Linked DNA regions of Homo sapiens: region 1 is linked to region 2. Evidence: promoter capture Hi-C in 16 types of primary human blood cells and fetal thymus (Javierre and others, 2016). All regions are on one chromosome and are shown on one strand. Each heading gives the region's core, a stretch centred on a gene start or on the middle of the fragment in contact. The rest is flanking DNA. Distances are from core to core; before and after follow the strand shown. Region 1 has its middle 23 kb from the start of OR6Y1. Region 2 holds the start of CD1A (CD1a molecule).

Region 1 (5,141 bases), core at 751-3,250, 280 kb before region 2:
TTAAAAGGCCTTTTGAAGAGCAAATGTTTTTAATTTTCTTAAAGTATAATGTATTGAATTCGTCTTTTAACATCTGTGATTAAAAGATCTTTGTCTAAGGTCACAAAAATTTTCTCCTAAGATTCTTCTAGACTTATACCATCCTTATAGGTTATGTATAAGTTGGTCTTAGTTTTTAATCCAATCTGACAACATCTTCTCTTAAACTATTTTTTTCTTTTTACCGCCTTCTTAAAAGCATTAATTAAGTATTCTTTTAATGTTTCCACTTACCTCACTTTTGGCTTACTAATGTTTGTTTAGGGCAACTTTCTGGGATAATGGAAATATTCCATGTCTGTTCAATCCAATACAATGTCAACAACATGTGACTATTAATTAAACATTAAAATGTAGGTAATATAAACAGGGTACTGAACTTTTACATTTATTGAATCATAATTAATTTGAAAGTAAATACATATAGCTAAAGATTACTTCATTAGCTAACATAGATCTAGATATGATGTATAATATATAACTGTCACCATTCATATATTATATAATTTAATATATAATGAAAATCCTTATTACCTATTATTTATACTATTATTGCTACATATTTTACTTCAACTATTCTAAACATACAATTCTTTATTATTATTTTTGCTTTAAGCCATCAATTATCTTTCAAAGGTTTTTTAAATGAAAGAAAATGAATTTTATATTTACACTTCTATCTAGCATGTTATTTTCTCATCATATTTTTGTGTAGATGCAAATTTTCATCTGATAACTTTTTATATACCTGAAGCTATATATAGTATTTACTGGTGGTAAAAGTATGCTAGTGATACATTTTCCCAGCTTTGGACAGTCTGAACAAGAGTTTATTTCATCTCAATTTTTGAAGATATTTCTCCTGGCTAAAGAACTCCAAATTGATAGTTTTTGATGCAAAACCAATGTAACCAAAGACAGTGTAGTGATTTCCTCAAAGACCTAAAAACAGAAATACCATTTGACCCAGCAATCCCATTACTGGATATATACCCAAAGGAATACAAATCATTCTATTATAAAGACACATGCATGCATATGTTCATTGCAGCATTATTCACAATAGCAAACACATGAAATTAACCTAAATGTCCATCAGTGGTAAACTGGATAAAGAAAATGTGGTACATATACACTGTGGAATTCTATGCAGCTATAAAAAAATGAGATCGTATTCTTTGCAGAAACATTGATGGAGCTGGAGGCCATCACCTTTAGCAAACTAATTCAGGAACAGAAAACCAAATCCCACATGTTCTCACTTACAAGTGGGAGCTAAATGATGAGAACACATGGACACACAGAGGGGACCAACACACACTGGGTCCTATTGAAGGGTGCAGAAGGGGAAGAGGGAGAGGATCAGGAAAAATAACTAATGGGTACTATGCTTAATACCTGGGTGAAAAAATAATCTGTACAACAAATCACCGTGACACAAGTTTACTTATATTACAAGCCTACACCTGCACATGTGCTCCAGAACTTAAAATAAACGGTTTTTTTTAAAAAACTACTCTAATATTCATATGAAACTAAAAAAAAACCTGAGTAGACAAAACAATCCTAAACAAAAATAACAAAGCCAGAAGCCTCACATTACCAGACTTCAATTTATGCAACAAGGCTACAGTAACCAAAACAGCACGATTCTGATACAAAAACACAGCCTCACAGAACATAACAGATAACCCAGAAATAAAGCCACATATCTACAACCATCTCTTTTTTGACAAAGTTGACAAAAATAAACAATAGGGAAAGAACTCCCTATTCAATAAATGGTGCTGGGACAAATGGATAGCCATATGAAGAAGAAAAAAACTGGACCTCGATTTATTACAATAAACACATATTAACTCAAGATGGGTTAAGGACTTACATGTGAGACCTCAAACTATAAAAATCCTAGGAGAAAACCTAGGAAATACCATTCTGGACATTAGCCGTGGCAAAGAATTTATGACTATGTCTCCCAAATTAATTGCAACAAACACAAAAATTGAAAAGTGGGTACTGATTAAACTAAAGAACTTTTGCACAGCAACAGAAATTATCAACAGAGTAAATAAGCAACCTACAGAATGGTAGAAAAGATTTTCAAATTATGCATCTGACAAAGGTCTAATATCCAAAATCTACAACAAACTTAAACAATTAAAGGAGCAAAAAACAACCTCACTAAAAGGTCAAAAAGGACATAAACAGACACTTTTCAAAAGAAGACATACATATGGCCAACAAGCATATGAAAAAATGCTCAATATCTCTAAACATCAGAGAAAGCCAAATCAAAACCACAATGAGATACCATCTCACACCAGTTGAAATGGCTATTATTAAAAAGTTTAAAAAATAATGAATGCCAGCAAGATTGAGAAGAAAAGGGAATGCTTATACACTGCTGGGGGGAATGTCAATTAGTTCAGCCATTGTGGAAACCAGTGTAGAGGTTTCCTTTTTTTTTTTTTTTTTAGAGACGGAGTTTCACTCTTGTTGGCCAGGCTGGAGTGCAATGGCATGATCTTGTCTCACCAAAACCTCCGCCTCCCAGGATCAAGTGATTCTCCTGCCTCAGCCTCCCAAGTAGCTGGGATTACAGACATGTGCCACCAAGCCCAGCTAATTTTGTATTTTTAGTAGAGATGGGGTTTCTCCATGTTGGTTAGGCTGGTCTCGAACTCCCGACCTCAGGTGATCCACCCGTCTCGGCCTCCCAAAGTGCTGGAATTACAGGCGTGAGCCACTGCGCCCGGCCTGAGATTTCTTAAGGAAACTACAACTACCATTCAACCCAGCAGTTCTATCATTGGGTATATCCTCTGAGAAATGTAAATTGTTTTGTAGCCTGAAACTTTATTGACATTTTTAATCAGTTCCAGAGTCTTTAGGCAGAAGCTATAGAGTTTATATCCTAGATATAGAATCATATCCTCTGCAGGATGTTTGACTTACTCTCTCTTTTTTTTTTTTTTTGGATGCCTTTTATTTCTTTCTCTTGCCTAATTAGTATGACCAGGACTTCCAGTACTGTATTGAATACAAGTGGTGAGAGAGGGTATCTTTGTCTTGTTCTGATTTTCAGGGAGTATGCTTTCAGCTTTTGCCCATTCAGTATGATGTTGGCCATGGGATTGTCATAGATGGCTCTTACTATTTTAAGGTATGTTCGTTTGATGCCTAGCTTGTAGAGGGTTTTTATCATGAAGGGACATGGTATAATTTTGTATGCTTTTTCTGCATCAATTGAGATTGTCATATGGTTTTTGTCTTTAATCCTGCTTATGTGGTAAATAACATTTATTAATTTACATATGTTGAACTAAACTTGCATTCCAGGAATAAAACCTATGTGATCATGGTGAATTAAATTTTTGATATGCTGCTGAATTTGCTTTGCTGGTATTTTCTTGAGGATTATTACATTTGTGTTCATCAGGGATATTGGTCTGCAGTTTTCTTATTTTGTTGTGTATTTGCCAGGCTTTGGTATGAGTATGTTGCTTGCTTAATAGAATGAGTCGGAATAAAGTCCCTCCTCCTCAATTTTTTGGAATATTTTCAGTAGCATTGGTACCAGCTTCTCTTTGTATGTCTATTAGAATTCTGCTGTGATTCTATCTGGTCTAGGGCTTTTGTTGGTGGTGGTGGTGATGGTGGTGGTTGCTGGCTTTTCATGAGCAATTCAATTTCAGAACTTGATATTGGTCTGGTCAGGGTTTCAACTTCCTTGTGATTCAATCTTGGGAGGTGGTGTGCTTCCAGTTGTTTATCCATTCCCTCTAGATTTTCCAGTTTGTGTGCATAGAGGTGTTCATAAAAGTCTCTGAGGATCTTTTGTATTTTTGTGGGATTGATTGTAATGTCATCTTTGCCATTTTTGAGCGTGATTATTTGGATCTTCTCTCTTTGCCAATCAAGCTAGTGGTTTATTGATCTCGTTTATTCTCTCAAGTAATCAGCTTTTGGATTTATTGATCCTTTTAATGGATTTTTGAATATCAATTTTGTTCAGTTCTTCTCTGATTTTGGTTATTTTTTTCTGCTAGCTTTAGGTTAGTTTGTTCTTGTTTTTCTAGTTCCTCTTAGTGTGATGATAAATTGATAATTTGGGATCTTTTTAAATCCTTGTTGTAGGAGTTTAACATCATAAACTTTCCTCTTAACATTGCTTACACTGCACCCCAGCGATTTTGGTATGTTGCATCTCTGTTTTCCTTTATTTTAAAGAATTGTTTTATTTCACCCTTAATTTCGTTGTCCATCCAAAAGTCATTCACAAGCAAGTTTTTTAGTTTCCATGTAATTATGTGTTTTTGAGAGATCCTCCTGGCATTAATTTCAATTTTTATTCCCCTATGGTCCAAGAGTATGGTTGGTATGATTGCTATTTGTTTGAATTTATTGAGACTTGCCTTATGGCCTAGCATGTGGTCACTCTTAAAGTACATTCTGTGTGCAGTTGAGAAAAGCATATATTCTGTGGTTGATGAGTAGTCTGTAGAGGGTTTTTTTTTTGTTATTTTTGTTTGTTTGTTTTTTGTTTTTGAGATGGAGTCTCGTTCTGTCACCCAGGCTGGAGTGCAGTGGTGCAATCTCGGCTTACTGCGAGCTCCGCCTCCCGGGTTCACACCATTCTCCTGCCTCAGCCTCCCGAGTAGCTGCGACTACAGGCGCCCTCCACCACGCTTGGCTAATTTTTTGTCTTTTTAGTAGAGACGGGGTTTCACCATGTTAGCCAGGATGGTCTCGATCTCCTGACCTTGTGATCCGCCCACCTCGGCCTCCCAAAGTGCTGGGATTACAGGCATGAGCCACCGTGCCCAGCCCTGTAGAGGTCTTTTAAGTCCAACTGGCCAAGTGTCAAAGTTATGTCCAGAATTCCCTGATAGTTTTCTGCCTCGATGATCTGTCTAATACTGTCAGTGGTGTCGAGTCCCCCACTTTTGTGTGGCTGTTTAGATATTTTTGTAGTCCTAGGTGTACCTGTTTTATGAATCTGAGTGTTCCAGTGTTAGGTGCATATATATTTAGCGTAGTTAAGTCTTCATGTTTAATGGAATCCTTTATCATTACAGAATATACTTCTTTGTCCTTTTTTA
Region 2 (4,982 bases), core at 1,070-3,569:
CATATCTCCACAACAGTTTAGAAGTTTAGATAGACACATTGTTCCCATTTCTCTTTTTTTTTTTTTTGAGACAGGGTCTCACTCTGTCACTATGCTGCAATGCAGTGGCATAATTATAAATTATAGCTCACTGTAACCTCAAACTGTTAGGCTCAAGCGATCCTCCTGCCTCAGCCTCTTAAGTAACTGGGACTACAGGTGTGTACCACCATGACTGGCTAACTTATTTTTATTTTTTAGAGACACTGGTCTCACTCTGTTGCTCAGGCTGGTCTGGGACTCCTGCCCTTAAGAAGTCCTCCAGCCTCAGCTTCCCAAAGTACTGGGATTACAGATGTGAGGCACTGCACCCAGCCTTTCCCACTTCTGGGTGGCTCTTCCTTATTCTAAATTGGAAGGAGGTGGTGGAAGGGTATGATTTTCAAATCAAAACTTCTTGGAGGGAGAGTGCAGGACTGACCTTGCCGCTGGAGATGTGCCTTTCCTGCATCAAGAAGACCCAAGATGAAACGTGGGCAGGTGTCACTGAGAAGATTGTGTGTTATGTCATTTTCATGCTGATTCTGATTGAGCACTTTGCAGAAATGCTTGGCCATATTCCCAGCCACTGGATATGGCAACCATGAATTGTTCTGGAAGCTCACAAAGTCTGATCCTTGATAAGCTAACTGCAAGAAGCTTCCTGAGACCTTTCCAGAGTGCAGCTCACAGCCTCCTGTCACCTGTATCTCAAAAGGATCTGGGGTTATGAAATAGAGGAAAGAGGGAGAAAAAAATATAAAATGAAATGAGTAGAAGCAAAGATTATAGAAGCAGAAGGGGGAAGTGTGCAGGGTTTGACATAATGGAATAAAATTTGGTTTGGTCAGGGATTCAGAGAAAGAGGAATTGGTGGGAGCTGTAGGTGGAGGAAAAGATTAATAACATGAGGAAGAGGGCAAACTGGTCAAAGAAGGTGATGTGAATGCTGTGGGTGAGCAAGGACCTGGTGTAAGAGAACTGGGATTATAACAACTTAGGTTGAATTAAATGCAATGGGTTACAATTGAGTATATATAGAGAGACTGCTGAAGAGAATGAATGAGAAAGTGAGAAAGCTGAAGGTATCTGGTTGTAGGGCAGGCAGAAGGGTGGTCCTGGGATACCTGTAAGAAAAGATAATAATGCACAACCCTGCAATCAATGAGAGAGGAGTTCATAAGTAGCAGAAGTGTTTGGAGAATTAAGGTCTGGATGATAGCCCTTGCCCAAAAGTATGCAATTGCAGTTTTATGGTGGAAAGAATAGAATAAGATACAGAAGAGAGTCAGGCTGTTTCCTAAAGGAATAAGAAACATTGAGACAACCCCTCTCTCCCACCTCACCACTCTCCATGGAGAAAACTGAACTCACATTCAAACTGCAATTCATGGGCGTATCTACGAATTCCCTCAAATGACCGAATGGTGCGTATACGGAATAATGTTTCCAGTTCCTTCCACTCCTCATTGCTGAAGTTTCCCCTGGACCAGGGGCACAGGAAAACGATGGTGCTGGAATTGCTGTCCCAGGTATGAGTCTGCAAATCACTCAGCCAACCTGAGACCAGATTTTGTTTCCAGGAATGGTTGTAAAAGGATGCGATCCAGGTGACATGGAAGGAGAGAGGCTCCTTGAGCCCTGCGACAAAAGAACAGATAGAATGGGGAGAAAGACATTGAGAAAGAGGATGGAGAGAGAAAGGTGCCAGAGTGCGGGAACTCAGAATCTGGAGAAAAGGGGATCCATCATGATCTTAGCAGACATTCACTTGCCACACAGTCCCATGCCTTATCAACCACCTTCATAAGAGCTCAGGGACCTGGAGTCATGGATAGTCAGAATGGAACCAGCCTGGCACTCTCACTTTCCAGGTATATGCTAGGGAAACCACACACACACACACACACACACACACACACACACACACACACACACAGAGAGAGAGAGAGAGACCTTCACCCACCACCCAACTGGGCAGTTGTCAGAGTTCTTACCGTCTGCATTGCCATCACCTGGGAGAACAGCTAACAATGGAAGTAGCAAAAACAGCATATCATTTGCAGATGTTATTTCCTTCTCTCAGAAAAATTGGTCTTTGATTTCTGTTCCAAACAAACCTACCCCACGATATCTCTATTCTGACTTCTTTCTGCAGCCAACAGACAAACCTCCCCTGACTGCAACAAAGAAAATCCACTCCTTCAAAAACCCTGAGATGCCTACTCAGTCTCTCATTTCCCTCTGGTTCTGACTCTCCTCTCTGTTCCAGCTTCTCTCCTTGTCACCAACCTCCAACTTATTCACCTTCCCCTAATTCAACTGCTATGGAACAAGTCTGATGTGGCATTGAAAAGCCACTTAACCACTAAGGACATTTTTTTCTCAATCATACAATAAGAGCATAAAGTGAAATGGCTCCCAGTGTGCTGCCCAATGCTCCCATGTCCCTGCTCTTTTTGATCACTCTGTCCTTTTCAATATTTTCCCATGTATTCTCTTCCCCTGTCTCTTCAGCCCCTTACTACATTCACATTTCTGATTTAACATTGATTTATTTGCTTTTTCAGAGTCTCCTACGACTGCCCTGTGCGACAGTACAAACTAACACCTTTTCTCCATTATTCTTAGAGAAGAGCCAGTAACCATCACAAAAAAAAAAAAAAAAAAAAAAAAAAAAAAAAAAAAAAAAACCACAGGAACACTAAAACATATAAAGAAAATTTCCTCTGTTTGATTTTCATTGATATACATTCACTCACCCAACAGTCTCTCTTAGCACCTGCCTGGAGTCAAGCATCTTGGTACACTTAAGAATATGCAGTGGTTGACAACACAATCACTTTACTGAAGGAGCTTTTTCTCTACTTAGGGAGAAAAACACGCCATGAAATATAAATCTTGGTGTACTGAGTTTTATTATACTGTATACACTCTCTGGATAAAAACAAGGCCTGCTTGAAATAATATTTTCTAAAATGGGGGCTCCTAACTAATGTACGCCAGCCCAGAATTTTGACTTCAATGTTTGACTTGGAGTGTTAGTTCCATACAGTTATCATACTGTATCCCCACCTAACAGAGTATCTCACAAGTGGTAGGTGCTTAGTGAATATTTGTCAAATGAATGAATGAATTCAGTCTATGCATCCATTTTTTAATTATGGAGGTGATATTCAACATGAAACTTTTTAAAGATATCATAAAAGTTACTTGTAACCCTATGTAGTGAGATGAGAATCTCATACAGTTTTATTTAGGATAAAAGTACAAGTTACTGGCATGAGATTTACATAAAAGATCCTGCTATAAATGTCCTATTACTTATAAGAAACTAGTCAGAACTTGTGAGCAGTGAAGTTAATGGAGTATTCCAAAGTCTTTATCCCAGGATCCCTTTTTATTAGTCCTATTTGGATGTTTCAGGGTTGTTTTGTTATAAATGAGTCTTTGCCGGACACATTTACATTCCTCTTTTACGCTGCTTGTAACTGTTGAAGGGCTTCTAAATATATGTTTGTGCTTTGTAGATATCATCCATATAAATGTGTCTGGGCTATTTACTATTTTTTGGTTTTCAAAAAAAAAGTATCTGAAGCTAATTTAGGGGGAAAAAATTTTTTTTCTTGAGACAGGGTTTCACTCTGTTACTCAGGCTGGAGTGCAGTGGAATAATCATAGCTCACTGTAACCTCCAACTCCCGGCCTCAAGCAATCCTCCTGTGTCAGCCTCCCAAAGTGCTGGGATTGTTGGCATGAGCCACCAGGCATGGCCTGCAAATAATTTTTTTATTTGTTTTTTGTTTTGTTTTGTTTTGTTTTGTTTTGAGACAGAGTCTCACTCTGTCACCCAGGCTGGAGTTCAGTGGCATGATCTCAGCTCACTGCAACCTCTGCCTCCCAGGTTAAAGCAATTGTCCTGCCTCGGTTTTGCAAGTAACTGGGATTACAGGTATGCACCACCATGCCTGGCTAACTTTGATATTATTAATAGAGATGGGGTTTCACCATGTTGGTCTCAAACTCCTGACCTCAGATGATCCACCTGCCTCAGCCTCCCAAAGTGCTGGGATTACAGATAATTTTTTTAAAGTTAAGATTAGCATGCAAAAAGCTGGAAAGAGCTTCATTTTCATACTTATAATTTTTTGAAGCCAGATTATCAAAATCATAACTTGAATTTATCAAAGAACTGAAATATCAAGGCAACCAGTTAACCCAAAATATAAAGAAAGACAGACTCCTCAAAGGACAGATGGAATGCAAACCCTTGTTTACTTGGGACAGATGCCAGATATTATACAAGCCAGTAAGAATAAGAATTCAGCTAAAATTTTAGACAAATTAGTAAAGGCTAGCATGAGTATATAGAAGCCCTGGGAGTCACAAAAACAGGGAAATTCGCATCAGTCTCTAAGCCTTTTTCTATGAACCTCACCAGGGTCTTCTGAAACATTAGGGTCAGAGATGTAGACCAGATAAATCCTCTCTCATGATGCGGGCCTGAGGTATGAGAACAGCTACTGCATGGGAAGGGTAGTAAGTCCCAACCAGACCCATCTCCTCTATTGCAACATAGAAAAAAAAAAAAACCGTGGCCGGGTGCGGTGGCTCACACCTGTAATCTCAGCACTTTGGGAGGCCAACGTGGGCGGATCACAAGGTCAGGAGTTCGAGACCAACCTGGCCAACATGGTGCAACCCCATCTGTAGTAATAATACAAAAATTAGCCAGTTGTGGTGGTGCACACCTGTAGTCTCAGCTACTTGAACCCGGGAGGCGGAGGTTGCAGTGAGCCGAGATCGCGCCACTGCACTCCAGCCTGGGTGACAGAGCAATATTCCATCTAAAAGAAAAAAAAAAGCCCTAACCTGGTGGGGAAAGGGCAGAAAGCCCTGCTGCCCTCAGGGCATATGTGAAAACCCACTGCAGCTGAGGAGAAGAAAAACAATGGGAAAGAACG

What was found. The method cuts DNA at HindIII sites, captures the fragments that hold promoters and counts their contacts. A CHiCAGO score of 5 or more calls a contact.
Region 1: a contact is called between a fragment that was not itself captured here and the fragment with the promoter of CD1A in region 2, in 1 of 17 cell types (fetal thymus). The highest score is 5.4, in fetal thymus.

Annotation. Positions count from the first base shown.
Region 1 is chr1:158,528,916-158,534,056 of GRCh38, reverse strand. No RefSeq gene overlaps it. Among named protein-coding and RNA genes, the nearest start is that of OR6Y1, 23 kb to the left of the region's middle. The HindIII fragment of the contact is 7,233 bases long and covers 1-5,141 here.
Region 2 is chr1:158,251,761-158,256,742 of GRCh38, reverse strand. CD1A (CD1a molecule) reads right to left here and starts at 2,319. Exons shown (of 6, transcript NM_001763.3): 1 at 2,016-2,319; 2 at 1,393-1,659; 3 at 461-739. The coding sequence starts at 2,073. The HindIII fragment of the contact is 5,152 bases long and covers 681-4,982 here.